Regions from separate parts of the Homo sapiens genome. Here region 2 is linked to region 1. The links are contacts of gene promoters, found by promoter capture Hi-C in blood cells and fetal thymus (Javierre and others, 2016). All regions are on one chromosome and are shown on one strand. The core of a region is centred on a gene start or on the middle of the fragment in contact, and the rest is flanking DNA. Distances in the headings are between cores, read along the strand shown. Region 1 holds the start of SH3PXD2B (SH3 and PX domains 2B). Region 2 overlaps ERGIC1 (endoplasmic reticulum-golgi intermediate compartment 1).

The links. The method cuts DNA at HindIII sites, captures the fragments that hold promoters and counts their contacts. A CHiCAGO score of 5 or more calls a contact.
Region 2: a contact is called between a fragment that was not itself captured here and the fragment with the promoter of SH3PXD2B in region 1, in 2 of 17 cell types (monocytes and naive CD8 T cells). The highest score is 5.2, in monocytes.

What each region holds. Positions count from the first base shown.
Region 1 is chr5:172,449,854-172,457,013 of GRCh38, forward strand. It overlaps SH3PXD2B (SH3 and PX domains 2B), which reads right to left and starts at 4,672. Exons shown (of 13, transcript NM_001017995.3): 1 at 4,425-4,672. The coding sequence starts at 4,499. RefSeq lists an enhancer at 3,638-4,159. The HindIII fragment of the contact is 9,231 bases long and covers 2,516-7,160 here.
Region 2 is chr5:172,917,853-172,925,012 of GRCh38, forward strand. It overlaps ERGIC1 (endoplasmic reticulum-golgi intermediate compartment 1), which reads left to right. Exons shown (of 10, transcript NM_001031711.3): 6 at 6,153-6,257. Among named protein-coding and RNA genes, the nearest start is that of MIR10523, 6.4 kb to the left of the region's middle. RefSeq lists enhancers at 534-1,035, 2,364-3,008. The HindIII fragment of the contact is 9,131 bases long and covers 1-7,160 here.

The DNA of each region.
Region 1 (7,160 bases), core at 3,422-5,921:
CAGTTCCCGGCACGAGCTTGAAAAAACAGGGGCATGTTCATCAATGCCATAGTAAGCGACAGTTAAAACGAACTGGAGCTAGCTGGATCGACATAGATCTCAAAAGTGCTTATTTATAGTTTTAAAACATTCACGACAATACAAGATTTTAGGGAATGTTAAAAAGGGAAAAACATTAAAAGGTCCATGGGCTGTGGTGGGAAGGGGATTGATGGCAAATGGGCGTGGGGGATCTTTCTGGGGATGATGGAAATGTTATAATACTGCATTGTGGTGACGGTTGCATAGCTCTGCAAATTTACTTTAAAAATAAGTGAATTGCACACTTACAATGGGTGAATTTTATGGTATGTAAATTATACCTCAAGAAAGCTGTTAAAAAAAATCCTATCTATTAGTCTATTTTTTATAAGTGCATGGGAATGATCAACATCAAATGCAGGATAGTGGTTTTATGGGGGAGGGGCAGCATCGGGGAGGGCGTCCGGGGGGTTTGCATCTGCGATGCTTTATTTCTTAAAAATAAAAACAAAAAAGTTTTGAAACAAATTGGCAAAATATAGAGATGTGAAGACTTGGAAGGTATATAGATATAGATAGCTATTTTATTCTATGTATCTATATATGTGCAGAATATTGTATTACTATATTGAAAATATACCCATTTGAAAGGGACCCAGTGCCCCGCTCAGGTTACCGAGGACACTTTGACCACTGTTATTCTTGCTGCCATAAATATTCCGACCATCCTGCTCCTCTTAACATTTAAAGATCTTGAGACAGAGCAGGCCAGCATCTCCAGGCTCCTGCTGCCGAGACACTAATGCTTCTGTACATCCCTCTCCAGTGCGGGAAATGGGGTGATCCAAATAAAACCCACAAATCCTACCTGGAGCTCTTCTTCCTCCCCCCAAGCTGAAGACAAGCTAGCTGGGGAGGGTCTCCCAGGATGTCACCCTCAAAAGCCCCTCTCCATTCATCCCCAAGCCCTCGGGCTCTAGTGCAGGAAAGATGCTGGCAGAGAAAGGCAGGAGCTCCCCAAATCTTCATCTCCCTGCTTCCAACAGAGGGCAGTGGCTCCAGGGAAAGGCTCTCCAAACAATATCATGGTTCATTGTCATCAGCCTCTCAGGATCTCACAGGCACCTGGAGCTTCTGGCCCTGCATTCTCCAGACCTGGCCTGTGGCTCTGCCCCTGGGCCCATGGATGATGTCTCTGCCTGCGGGTGACTGAGGCTGGGGCTGGAGAGGACGCCATTCTGATCATGGAGAAGGCACCATTTCAGAGGGAGCAGGTGGCCCAGCCCTGATGGGCAGCCCTGAACTCCGGGTGCAGTTCTCCAATGACATCTACAGCACCTGTGACCCTGTCCCTCACAGGCAAGTGAGTGATGAGCAGGTAGTGGCCGAGATGGCTGCAAATGGGGAGAGGGGTAGTGGGAAATTAGGGGGCGTAGTGAAGAGGACTCTCAAAAACTGACTTTATAGTCTATGGCGCAGTGGCTGGGGTGGGAATGTGTGTGGTGCTGCCCCCTAGAGGACATGCAGCAATCAATGCCTGGAGGCCTTTTGGGTGTCACAATTGGGAAGGGGGATAACTAGCTGGGTAGAAGCCAGGGAAGCTGCTAAACATCCTGCAATCCACAGGACAGCCCTGAAACAAAGAATGATCCAGCCCCAAATGTCAAAAGTGTTGAGTTTGAGAAACTCTGCCCTTGAGGGATGTAGCAGTATTTACACAGAAGCTAGAGCTCAGAGAGGCAAACCAACCAGTCCGAGGTCACACAGCAGAAAAGTTCAACTCCCCAGCTGATGCTGTCTCTCCAGGGTGGCTTCAGAAAAAGGGATACCAAATGGGAGTCAAAGTCCAGGCCTGCCAATAGCTGCCTTCATGCCCGCTCTTTCCAGATTGTGTGAGGGGTTGGGGTGGAGCTTGGGAACAGCAGCGGTCGCCCACCACAGGGATCTGTTTCCATTGGGTTTGGCCCCCCTGCCATCAAGGCAGTAAATGTTCTCTGTTCCTGTGGATGACTCAGGCTTCAGTTCAGCCCATTGCCCCTCCTCATCTGATGAACCCAGAAGCCTGGGCTAGAAGGGAGAGGGCCTCTTGAATCACATGAGTGACTAAAGCCACATGCAGAAAAACAAGTTCTTGATGAATCCCCCTACCATGTGACTTTGGCATGTTCCCAATCAGTGACAAGATACCTCAGGACAGGCAGGCAGGGAGCTATGCCTTTAGGGCATTTAGGAATGCCCTAAGGCAGCCTGTCATGCGGCTGCTACCTCTAGGAAATGGACACCACCATCCCCATTACACAGATGAAAAAACTGAGGCTGAGGTGACACAGCTACAACCTGGGAGGCCAAGATCTGAATCCCAATCTATGTTTTAACATAGAAACTTGTCTCAGGGGGCCCCCAAAAAGTGGCTGAAAGCTTCAAAAGACGGTTCTCAAAGCGCAAAACCTTCAAAAAACTGGCAAGGATGGAGCTGACACAGCAGAGAATGAAAAGCTTCCAGGTTTTCACTAATGATAAGAGAGATTTCCCAGTTTTTCAGAGGACTTTGCTCAGAGAAACTATAGGGGTACCGGATGTGGGAAGTGGTGTGGTCCTTTTGGGGTCCAGCGGGCCTGGATCTACATCCCTGCTTGGCTCTTGACTGTGACCTTAGGCGTGGGACCTCACTTTGCTGAGCCCTGGTTTCCTCATCTGTCAAATGGGCTTAAGGCCCTCTGCCTGATATGGGCGTGATAGGAGAGGCCAGAAGAGGGCGCGTGGACGATGATGGCCGGGCCTCGGTGGCAGTATCTATTCTCGTTTTTGCCAGCTCACAGACCTGGTGGGAGGTGGCATGGAGAATTCCAGACTTCCTCCAGTTGCCATGTTGGTGAAAACTGTCTTCATGCCAAAGAGGCAAACTCACTTACACGCTAACAGGCTCAAACAAGAAACTAAGATTTGGCAGCATTTGAAAACAGTTAACAAAAAATAAAAAAAGGAAGGAAAAAAAAAAGACAATTTAGCTCAGCTCTGGAATCAAGGGAAACTTCACTCTATATAAAGATGCCACAGGTCCAGGAAATAGCTTCCCACCGCCTGGCTAAGGGCTGAATAACTGGCTGCCCAGCCAATAACAATACAGACTCACACAGCACACCCTTTCTTGTGGAGAGCGCGGAGTGGGTTCCCGGCTATCTCCTTTCAGAATTTCACAGGCTATTCACGGAAGGCATGCAGATCTACTTTGTAAGAATTAGTTCTTAAAAAAAAAAGATCTGAAGACGACTTCCAGGGAGGCCAAGGAGCTTAATTTAGCCAGCCAACGCCCTTTTCTATTCATTGTTCTATACTTCTTTGTTAGGATTTTTTCCCTCCCTCTTACTCTTTTTCCCTTCCTGGTTAACTTCTCTGCAGCCAGGCTCCGCCACTGCCCACTTCTCACCGCCAGAGACACTATAGCCCCCTTCCCTGCTGTAATGAGGCCCTCCCCAAGGCCTCATGTGGGCCCATCACCCCACATCCCCTTTATCTCCACCTAGAACCTGCGAGGTGGTCCCAGGGCCTCCTGAATCTGCAGACGTGTCCCCTAGGTTGCTGCGGAAGCCACTTTCCACCTGCAGGTCACCGTCAGCCCCAGGCACCCCTGCTGGAGGGAGGGAAGCCCGAATGCAGCTCTATGTTCCAGGACCTGCAACCTCTGAGCCTCAGCCTTCCTATCTGCAAAACGACGCTACTGTCCCATTTTCTCAAGTCCTTGCCAGCTCCAAACAAGATTCCCATGTTCCAGAGGGAGATGCCAGGAGAAAACTTTCGTACATTTTAAAACAGAAGTTACTGGAGAGAGGGGGCAGGGGATGTTTTTAACCCTTTAAAGGCGTAGCCACTCAAATGATCCATTCCCAGAGATCTCCTCCATCGCCCAGGCCGGCTCTTGCCAAAGAACGGAGTCAAATTCGGCGAACCCTAGAGGGGCTACCTGTGGCTGGGGACTGCGGGTCTGCGCGCCTCTGGACAAGGAGGGGCAAGGCGGGCGGCCTGAGAACAGGCACTTCTGTCTCTCCCGCTTTCTGTCTCAGACCCCTCACCGGCTGGAGCCAGACTTTTCCACAGATGAGCAGGACGGGAGTTGGGGGGACACGGAGAAGACAGAAAGGGGTAGAGGAGCCGCAGGGAGGCGAGTAGGGGGGCGAGGCGGGAGGAAGGGATGGAGGGGGAGAACGAGGCAAAAGCGGGGAGGGGAGGGGAGGGAGGGAGGAGGAGTCGGGAGGGACCCGGGCAGCGCCGCCGCAGAGCCGAGGGGAGAGCAGGGGAGGAGGGGACGGGAAGCGCTGGAGGCAGAAGTTTTCCAAGCCGGGGGCCCTCGGTCGCCCCCGACGGGGCGCGGGCTCAAGGGGGCGTGGGGGCCGCGCCGCACTCACATAATGCTTGTTGGGCACCCGCCGCTTCTGCACGTCTAGCACCTTCACCTCCACGATGCTGCGCCGCGGCGGCATGGCCGCTCCTCCGCCCGCAGCGGGCCGAGCGCGGGTGCGGGTGGCGCGGGGTGCAGGGAGCGCTGGGGGCGCGCCGCCGCGGGCAGGGAACCTGGAGCTGAGCGCAATCGCAGCCGGGGCCGAGCACGAGCCGCCGCCGCCACCGCCGCCGCCCTTCGCTCGGCGCGCACTCCAGCCGGGCCCAGCCGCCGCCGCCCGCCCCCGGCCCGCCCCCCGCACCGCCCCCCGCACCGCCCCCCGCACCGCCCCCCGCGCCGCCGGCCCGCCCCCCTTAAAGGGCCCGGCCCCGACCCCCGCCCACCGCGCGCGAACCCCGCCGGCCACGTCCGGCCCCCGCCCGGCCTTTGTCCCGGTGCTGAGCCGCCGCGCCGGGGGAGGGGACTGGACTGACCCCGTCGCCCGTTCACTGATTGACGTATCGATTCATTCCAGCACTCTCGCTCCGGCAGCCGCCATCCACCGCCAGTTTGGAGAGCCGGACACCCGGGTTCGAATCCCGGCTTTGCCGCTTTTCCACTCTGTGCCCTCGGCAAGTTGCTTAACCTCTCTGGGTTGGGTCTCTTCGTCTATAATATGAGCCTAGTAGTACAAGCACCATGTTTGTCTTTTTGTGTCTGGCTTATTTCACTCGGCATAATGTCCTCAAGGCTCATCCATGTTGTAGCACGTGTCAGTAGTACCGCCTGCCTGCCGGTGCTGCGCCCGGGATTAAGTGCATGTGAAGCCATTCCGCAGTGCAGTCCATGGTATGAGTGCTGGCGTTCCTAAAGCCACCCCAAGCCCTGGTGATTCAGGAGGAGCAAGAGACCCGTGACCAGGTTCCCCCAGCCTCAGTCTGGGACATGGGGAGTGAGGGAGAGAAAAACTGCAACAAATGCGCATACGTGCAATGTAATTGCCATGGAAGCAACAAAAGGGGATAAAAGGGTGGTGACTATGTGTGAGGGGCAGCTGGGTGCTTGTTAGCAAGGCCATCGATTTCCAGTTGCGGAGCACTTAACTGCTCGCTGGGCCCCGTGGCCCCTGCTTTTCACAAATGCTGTCTTTGCATCCTCAGGCAGACTCTAGGAGGAAAAGGTGTTTTTACAGAGGACGGCCTCCAGACATTTGGACATTTCCAATGAGGCCTGAGGACCCTCTGACTTGGGAACTGTACTTCAGAAGAATGTGCCTTACAGGAATTACATCAGTGAAGGTCCAGAGTCAGGGAGCCGGTGGATGGAGCCCGTCACTGCCTGGCTCTAGGTGGATCTCACACGTTGAAGCTGCCGTGGCTGGGGCAGCTCCTCGTTTCTTCATCTAGTGCCTCCTAGCACTGGCTGGGCACTGAGTCACTTTCAGGAGATGTTGGCTGAATGAATGGATAAATGAATATATAATGCATGGATGGGAGGTTTAGGCTCCTGGCCAGTGTTTTCACAGCCAGTAAGTGGGGGCTCTTTTCAACAAACCGTACGACTCTTCTCCATGCCACGACAGAGCTACTTCCCACCCCGGTCCAGGATCAGCCTTTGGAAAAGGGTGGGCTTATCCAGGGTAGGACGGCTCTCAGCCTCGGCCAGGCCACGTGGATGATTTGGGCTGATTCACTTTGGATCCGCCCCTCCATTTGCTCCTCTGACTTCCTTGCCAGACTTTACCATCCTGCTCCAGCCCCAGAGGCTGGCCTGTGTGGATTTCACTGACAGCTCTCTGTCCTGGTCTTCCTGTTTGGCTTGGCCAGTGGAAGGGCCTGGCAGGAGATTGAGGGCAAGAGGAGAGAGGGAGGTCTGGGTATTTAATCCCTAAGCCCCTCCTCCCCGATTGTTTTTACCAAAGGTGCCCTTTCTCACATGGTCTCTCTCAGGGTTCCTGAAGCCACTTTTCTGCTCAGGACAGTGACAGTCTTGCTGTTGCAAGCCCTGGGTACTACGCCATCCTCGGTGCTTCCTTAGCCCCGCCCACACCCGTATACATTGACCCTTTACTAAACTGTCTTCATGGACCCAGCTTGAGGGTGGCATCTGTTCGGTGCCAGGACCCTCACTCATGTAATTCCTGTAAGGCACATTCTTCTGAAGTACAGTCCCAAGCCAGAGGGTCCTGAGGCCTCATTGGAAATGTCCAAAGAAGTGAAGGTCTGCTTTTCCGTCCCTGCCACATCGTGCATTGCCTTATTAGGAGCCAAGCCTTCCTAAGAAGGCAGAAGCTAGAGGCCCTCTCTGAATCAGCCAGCTTCCTGGGTTTTTCCGGAGAGGCAGAGAGACCTGCCCCCAGCCACACCATGGGTGGCAGAGGTGGGTCCTGCTGGCTGTGTCCGTCTCCTCTGTCTGGGGAAGACAAAGGTCCCCCCACAACCACCAGTAGCAGAAGATGCTATCCCTGCATCTTTACGTATCTTTCCTTTGTTTTACTTTTTTATTGTAGTAAAAAATACATAACATAAAATTTAACATTTCAACCATGTTTAAAGCATACAGTTGAGTGGCATTAAGTACACTCACATTGTTGTGCAACTGTCACCACCATCCCTCTCCAGAACTTTCTCATCTTCCTAAACTGGAGCTCTGTCCCTATTAAACACTGAGTCCCCCCCCACTGCCCCCCAACCTCCTCCAGGCCTTGGCAACCATTGTTCTACTTTCCATCTCTATGAGTTTGACTATGCTAGGTACTTCATAT
Region 2 (7,160 bases), core at 2,658-5,157, 470 kb after region 1:
TTATATGCACCACTGTTTTAAAATTACGGTGATTGGCCAGGTGCAGTGGCTCACACCTGTAATCCCAGCACTTTGGGAGGCCAAAGTGGGTGGATCACTTGAGGAGTTCAAGACCAGCCTGGTCAACATGTCAAAACCCTGTACCTACAAAAAAATACAAAAGTTAACCAAGCCTATGCTTGTAGTCACAGCTACTCGGGAGGCCGAGGTGGGAGGGTCTTCTGAGCCCAGGGAGGTAGAGGCTTCAGTGAGCTGAGATCGCACCACCACACTCCAGCCTGGGTGACAGAGTGAAACCCTTAATCAATCAGTCAATAAAAATTACAGTAATTATTAGACCCACCACTAGGTCATCTTATTTGATGCATCAGTAAAGCAGCATATTCAAATGTGGATTTTTAAATATTTTAATTACTATTTAAATATCTCTTTACTTTGTAATCCTATGCATTTTACGCATTAAAACATTTTAAGCATTTAAAACGTAGGTATCATTAGACTGGCAAAGGATCATCCGTGGCACCAAAAGCCTTAAGAACCTAAGGTCTGGAGAGAATTGCAGTTTGAGGACTGAGTTCTGGCGCCCCGCCCAGTCACTTCGAGGTGGGGAGATGCGGGGGTAACAAAAGGTGCAAGAAGGGGCAGTCGAACAGGAAGGAGGAAGCAAAGGCTGGGCGGAACCTGCAGCCTGGAAAAGAACATATGTATAGATATCAAAGAGCAGGGCTGGCGCTACCAGGCTCAGGAAGGCAGGCTTGGAATGGACAGTGATCTAAGTGCTGCAGAGAGTGCTCCAGAAAACGCTGATGATGAGGAGAGAAGGGGCCGCTGCAGGAGCCACGTCCTTACGAAGCAATGGGAGCCAGACGCAGGCCACAGTTGGGGGTTTAAGGCCTTGGAGAGGTTCACAGTGCCGGCAGGCAGGTGGGGGGTTGGTGGGGGACCTCTGCTGGGCCTCCATACCCTCCCTCTGTCCCCACCTCATCCTCTTGGGGAACCACTACTCACCCACAGGCCTCAGCTGATGTGGGTCCCTCAGGGGAAGTCCTCCCTCCCCTTCCCTGCCCACCCACATTCACTCCCCACCACGCCCCTCATCACGCTGCGGCTGCTGCCTGTGCCTCCTCCTTGACTTGGCCTCTCCCTTTGACCACTCCACTCAGGCTTTCGTGCTATTGAGCATCCACCTCACGCCTGGCTCTGTGCTTGGCGCTGGGCTGCAATGGGAGAGAAACAGCCATGCTCCCCGCCGTTGGTGGCCCATGTTCTATAACGGGGGGACAGCCAGTGCTCAGGTAAACAGGAAATATGTGATTTTGATAAAGCAGCCGTGAAGAGAATGACGGGGTGCTGTGGTGGAGAATGAAGGAGGAGACCCCTGAGGTTACAAAGGAAGCCCTGTCTGAAGACTGAAGATGAAGATGCACAGATGAACAGACGTACACGCACACCTCCTCACTGTGGGCCCCCCGCCCCCGGGGAGATGCAACCACCTGGGCTGAAAAAATATATGTACCCCAGATGGTGACCAAGAAGGGATCGTGCTTATTCAAGCACCTGGAGTGACAACCCACGAGACAGCCCTGCCACCAAGCCCTCCCACCTCTTGGCAAACACGCCCAAGACTGCAGTCTGCTCCCCTTAGAATGGGCTGTGCTGGAGCCCCCAGCCAGCTCTGGGTGAACTTGTCCTTTGGGGTCAGACAGACCTGTGGTCAAGGATCCCGGCTACCATGGTCACTGGTTGAATGACTCTGGGCAGTTTAGCTTCTCTGAGCCTCAGGTTCCTCATCTGTAGAATGGGGATAATAATACCTCACAGGCTGTGAAACATGAACAAACTCTGCAGTAGAGACTGGACAAGCATCCTGGCCTGCCTCATCTCCCGTCAGTGCAAAGTTTCCATGACCTCATCAGCTGGCACCCACCTTACAAGTGCGCCTGTGGAAGGCACATGGAGGGCGTCCAAGAAATGGGCCTTCTCTGGTCAGGGGAGTGCCAGGGAGTCTTTGAAAGGCTCACACCAGCCTTTCTTAGACCCGCGTTATGGCTGCCACGTACTAGGTTCTTACCCAGCCCTTTCCACATATTAGCTCCTTTAGTCCTCACAGTAGCCTGGAGGAAACTGAGGCACAGGAGGTTAAGTGACCTGGTCAAGGTCACGCAGCCAGGATTTTAACACAGGCAGCCTAGCACCAGGGCCCTGGCCCTCTGAGCTCACTGCCTGTGGCTGCTTCTCCCAACATCTTGGTTACACATGTCATGACCAGCTGTGTCTGTGTGCCCCAGGTCACAGCCTAGGGCACCCTCTGCCCCATACTCCTGGAGGGAGTAGAGACCGTCCCCCACCCCAGCCCAGCCACTTTCCCTTTGAGGAACCGCCCATCAAGAGGTGCTCAAAGAAGCCACCAGGGTCCATGTGCTGTGATGGCAAGGTCAGCAGCCAGCCCCCGCACCTCTCTCCCAGCATCAGGCTGAGACTTGTCCCATGGCCTCCTTATCCGACCCCCAGGAAGTTGACCAGCAGCCAGATGTCAGAGTTTGCGTGTTTTGAGCAGCAGCGGCAGCCTCACCAGAGACCCCACGGTGACCTCGTTTCATCAGCCAGCCCCGCAGGAGGAGGACAGGATGGGGTGAGGGGTATGGGGCCTGGCTCCAGCTATATGTTTTTAAAATCCATCAGAGACACTGACGTAGGTTCCTAAGTCACAGGCTCTAAAAGCGTTGCTGTTTCTTTCTTCAGCCCAGCATGTGCTGGCATGAGTCAGCCACCTGTGATGGATTTGGTGTGGAGGGGGAGTGGGTTCCTGAGTCACAGCCTCGCACGGCCCGGCAGGGGTGGCAGGTGCTGAGGGGACAGCCTTCTTGACTCACTTCACTCCCGGAGCACGCGGCCCAGGCCCCAATCCCAGTTCTGAACTCTGCCATGGCCCGATCTGCGGAAGGCCCTGTGTCACTGCGTAGAAAACCTCTGGGAGGACACACGCCTTATGGCTGTGGGTTTCTTACTCCCAGGGGTGGTCAGCAACAGGGTCTTTAGTCTGACTGTGTCTCATGACTGTTTTATCATGAAAATGTACCCAGGCATTATTTTTATCGGTGAAAATGAGGCATAAATGTTAAAACCCACAGTGGGCTTTTCCTCACGCCCTGCCTGTGAGTGTTCCCTCTTCCGGGAGGGCCCTTCTTGGTTGGCTCCGATGACAAACATGTTCACCCTACAAACCCGATCTGAGGCCAGCTGCGGGCTGCTTTGTATGCATCACCTCAATGAATCCTCCCAGTAATCTTCTGGCTTTACGCCCATTTCGCTGATGGAGAAACTGAGGCATGGAGTGGTTACTGACCTCGCCTAAGGCTCCCCAGCTAGGAAGTGGGGCTGGGCTTGGGGCCAAGTGTAGAACTCAGAGCAACCGCTCTACTATGGGTTATTGGGTCCCTGAAGCAGGCGATGCTGTCCCTCGAGGGAGATCTTGCCACGCCTTTGTTTCTGCTCCACTCCTGACCCAGCAAGTGTCCCTTCTCCACTGTAGCCTGCAGCTCGCTCCACTGCGAGTTTGCTGAGGCCGAGGCTACAGGCTGTCAGCTTGATGCCTCCCCTGTCAGCCACAAGCTCGGGCCCTGCTGAAGTAGGAATATTCCTGCAGGAAGTCCCCAACTTTGTGTTTGAAACAGACATGCTTACAAAATCAGACTTTGATGGGCTGCTGCACGATAAGCTATATTCCCTCCTCGGACACAGCTCGCACAGTCTTCTTCATTGGGCTGGAATAAGGTAACCCCCGAGTTTTTCAGTGTGGCATCTGGGGACCTTTGATAAACAGCCCCAACTCCTCCCTTGTGCCTCTTTGTTTCCTGCTGCTGCCAGCACCGCCACCTCCGTCTCATTTGGAGTTCAATAATACCAGACTCTTAGTTCCTTAGACAGCCCACATGCTGGGAAGTTTCTGTCCTCTGCACCTGTTCATGCTGTTCCCTCTGCCCAGATGCCTTTCGCTCTCTTCCTGAGTAATGCAGACTCATCTTCAGAGCCTTAACACAGGATGTCCTTCCCCCTGGGAAGCCCTCCCTGAATACAGCCTGCACCCTCAATTGAGCCGGGGGCCTTCCCTGTAACCCCCATGGTCTGCAAATTCCTCTGGGCCAGGGTGGATCCCACAGAGTCTCATTGTCTGTTCCAAGTCTGTGTCACAGGGGCTTGGCCAAGGCCAGATTCTTGTCTGCTCATCTCCCCAGTTCCGGCATCTCCTGAAGGACTGGCGCCATGTGGCCATCAGCCCAGGCTGCGGAGGTAGATGGCATCCAGGCATCAGAGGAGGGAGCAGTGCGTCCAACAGACGTGAGCTGAGACTGCAGCTCTCGACATGTGACCTTAGCAAGTTTCTTCACTGCTCTGAGCCTCCATTTTCTTTTCTGTAAAATGGGAATTATCAGATGACAAAGTCAAAGGATTCAGTGTTGTTTGTTTAGTCATTCATTCATTCAAAAAGTGTCTATTGAGCACCTGCTATGTGTCGGAGTCTGGGGAGCACAGCAGGGCGTGGACATGCTAATGGGAGGAGGCAGACGAGAACAGGATGGGTATGAGATGGCAGGTGATCCCAGAGGCTGTAGCAGGTAAGGGGATGGGGAATGGGGGCCAGGGTGCTCTTTTGCACAGGTGGACGTGGAGGGCCTCTCTGTTGGGCCCTGAGGGTCCGAGGGAGGGCCATGTGGAAGAGGGTCCCAGGAAGGGGTGCAGGCACAAAGGCCTAAAATGGGGCCACACTGGATGCTGTTCCCGGCACGGCAGGAGACCAGACAGGAAGCAGCAGAGGACACAGCAGCAGGAGGCCAAGCGGTGGGGACACGATGCTTGGCCAGCGGCCAGATGTGGCCTGTGGGCCACCACGAGGACATGGACCTGGACTCTGAGAGAATAGAAGCCGTGGAGGGTTCTGGGCAGAGGAGTGATGAGATCTGATGTAGGGTTTAAAAAGATCTTAACAGTCATTATTGGGAAAAGGCCCAGGCTGTGGGGAACATGGAAGCTGGGAGCCCAGGGAGGAGCCTGCCATTGTTGTCCATGAAGAGACGACCTTGGACCAGGGCAGCAGAGAAGAGGTCAGGCGCCAGGTGTGTTTGGAAGGTGGAGCTAACAGGGTTTCAGCTGATGGATGGGACGTCGGGAGTGAGAAAGGGGGGTTCCAGGATCATACCAAGGGTTCTAGTCTGAGCATCTAGGAGGAGGAGGAGGAGGAGGGTTCCAGGATCATACCAAGGGTTCTAGTCTGAGCATCTGGGAGGAGGAGGAGGAGGAGGGTTCCAGGATCATACCAAGGGTTCTAGTCTGAGCATCTGGGAGGAGGAGGAGGAGGAGGGTTCCAGGATCATACCAAGGGTTCTAGTCTGAGCATCTGGGAGGAGGGAGGAGGGTTCCAGGATCATACCAAGGGTTCTAGTCTGAGCATCTGGGAGGAGGAGGAGGGTTCCAGGATCATACTAAGGGTTCTAGTCTAAGCATCTGGGAGGAGGAGGGGGAGGAGGGGGAGGAGGAGGGACTTCGTGCTGAAACAAGGAGAAGCTGCAGTGGCTCCTGCCACATGGTTGTCACCAGCATCCTTTGTTCTGTAAATACTCATCCAGCACCTCTTGCTGGCTTGGCTCTGCGAGGGCTTGAGACCCAGGGAAGAGATGAGGCTACCACAGTCTGTCCATCAGGGATCCCCCGTCTAGGGCACTGGGGCAAACTTGGGTAGGAAATGATAGGGGTTTGGAGTCTGAGGAATCCCCATTAGTCTGCAAGCTCAAAGGTCATCCCCCAGCTGACTGTGGGGTCAGCCGCCCAGAATCCACAGAGCTGGAGGGGGAGCAGCTGCCATGAGTCCTGGCTTTGTGCCCGTCGCCCAGATGGGCACTTCACATGCACCCTCTCACCAGATAGTCCTGGCAGCCCCCTCGGAAGCTATGGTAGTGCCCCCATTCTGCAGATGAGGAGCCTGAGGCCCAGAGAGATGGGGTGACTCCTTTGCACAGTTGAAAATGATACAAGCAGGATCCAAACCCAGATCTGCCTGATTCCAGTGTCCTCCCTGGATCACACAGGGTGAGGCCCCAATGTTCCGCCCCCTGGAGAAGTCAACCAAACTCCTGAAACTCACATTTCTCCCCCAGGTCCCCGGCAACTTCCACGTGTCCACACACAGTGCCACAGCCCAGCCACAGAACCCAGACATGACGCATGTCATCCACAAGCTCTCCTTTGGGGACACGCTACAGGTGAGCAGGGGACACTCGAGATGGCATGGCCGGGGGTGGGCCTTCAGGGGCTCTGTCACCCAGTGCCCTCTGCCCTCTCTGGGCACTAGGAAGAGTTACCGTTAAGGTGACATCTAAGCCAAGCCTGGAAGGGTAAGAAGGGTTTCACCAGGAACAGAACAGGGAAATGGGTCCTAGGCAGGGGGCGTCTCAAACATCACCCCTCTCCTAGAGCGCCCAGCTGGTGGTTTTCATGTGAAAGACCCTCAAGGTTACTTTCAGAAAAATGGATCAGTAAGCGTATGTGACACGGCATGTTCTGTGCCGAGATGGTCCAGGGCACAAGGGCTCGCTTGGCAGCTGAGAGGGCCCAGAGCACTTGCCTGAAATGGGAGCCGGCAGGTGGGGTGTGTGGGGTGCGAGAGACCCGTGGTAGACTGAGGAAGGTGGAGACTGAAGGTCTGGTTGGTGACTCAGAGCACCCATCTGCAATGAGGAAGATGGACCCAGGAGGCAAGACTATAGGCAGGGAGGTGAGGGAAGGGCCCAGACCGAGGCAGGTGGAGGGGAGAGGAGCAGCGGTCTCGCATTGCCACGTGCAGGGGCAAAACAGAAGGACACAGAAACTACAGTCCCAAGTTTAGTCATTAGTGGGGTGGAAATCTGATTTTTTTAAAAAAATGTACAGAACTTAGCTTAGGGCCCATCCATCCATTCATTTTCTGTCCATCCATCTAGTCAACAAATATTTACAAAGTACCTACCGTGTCCAGGCCTTGCATACCTTGGTGAGGACAAACATGGTCCCTGCCCACCTGGAGCTTCCAGTCTAGGGGGGAAGACAGATGTTGATCAAATAATGGTACAGGCCAGGTGCGGTGGCTCACTCCTGTAATCCCAGCACTTTGGGAGGCTGAAGCGGGC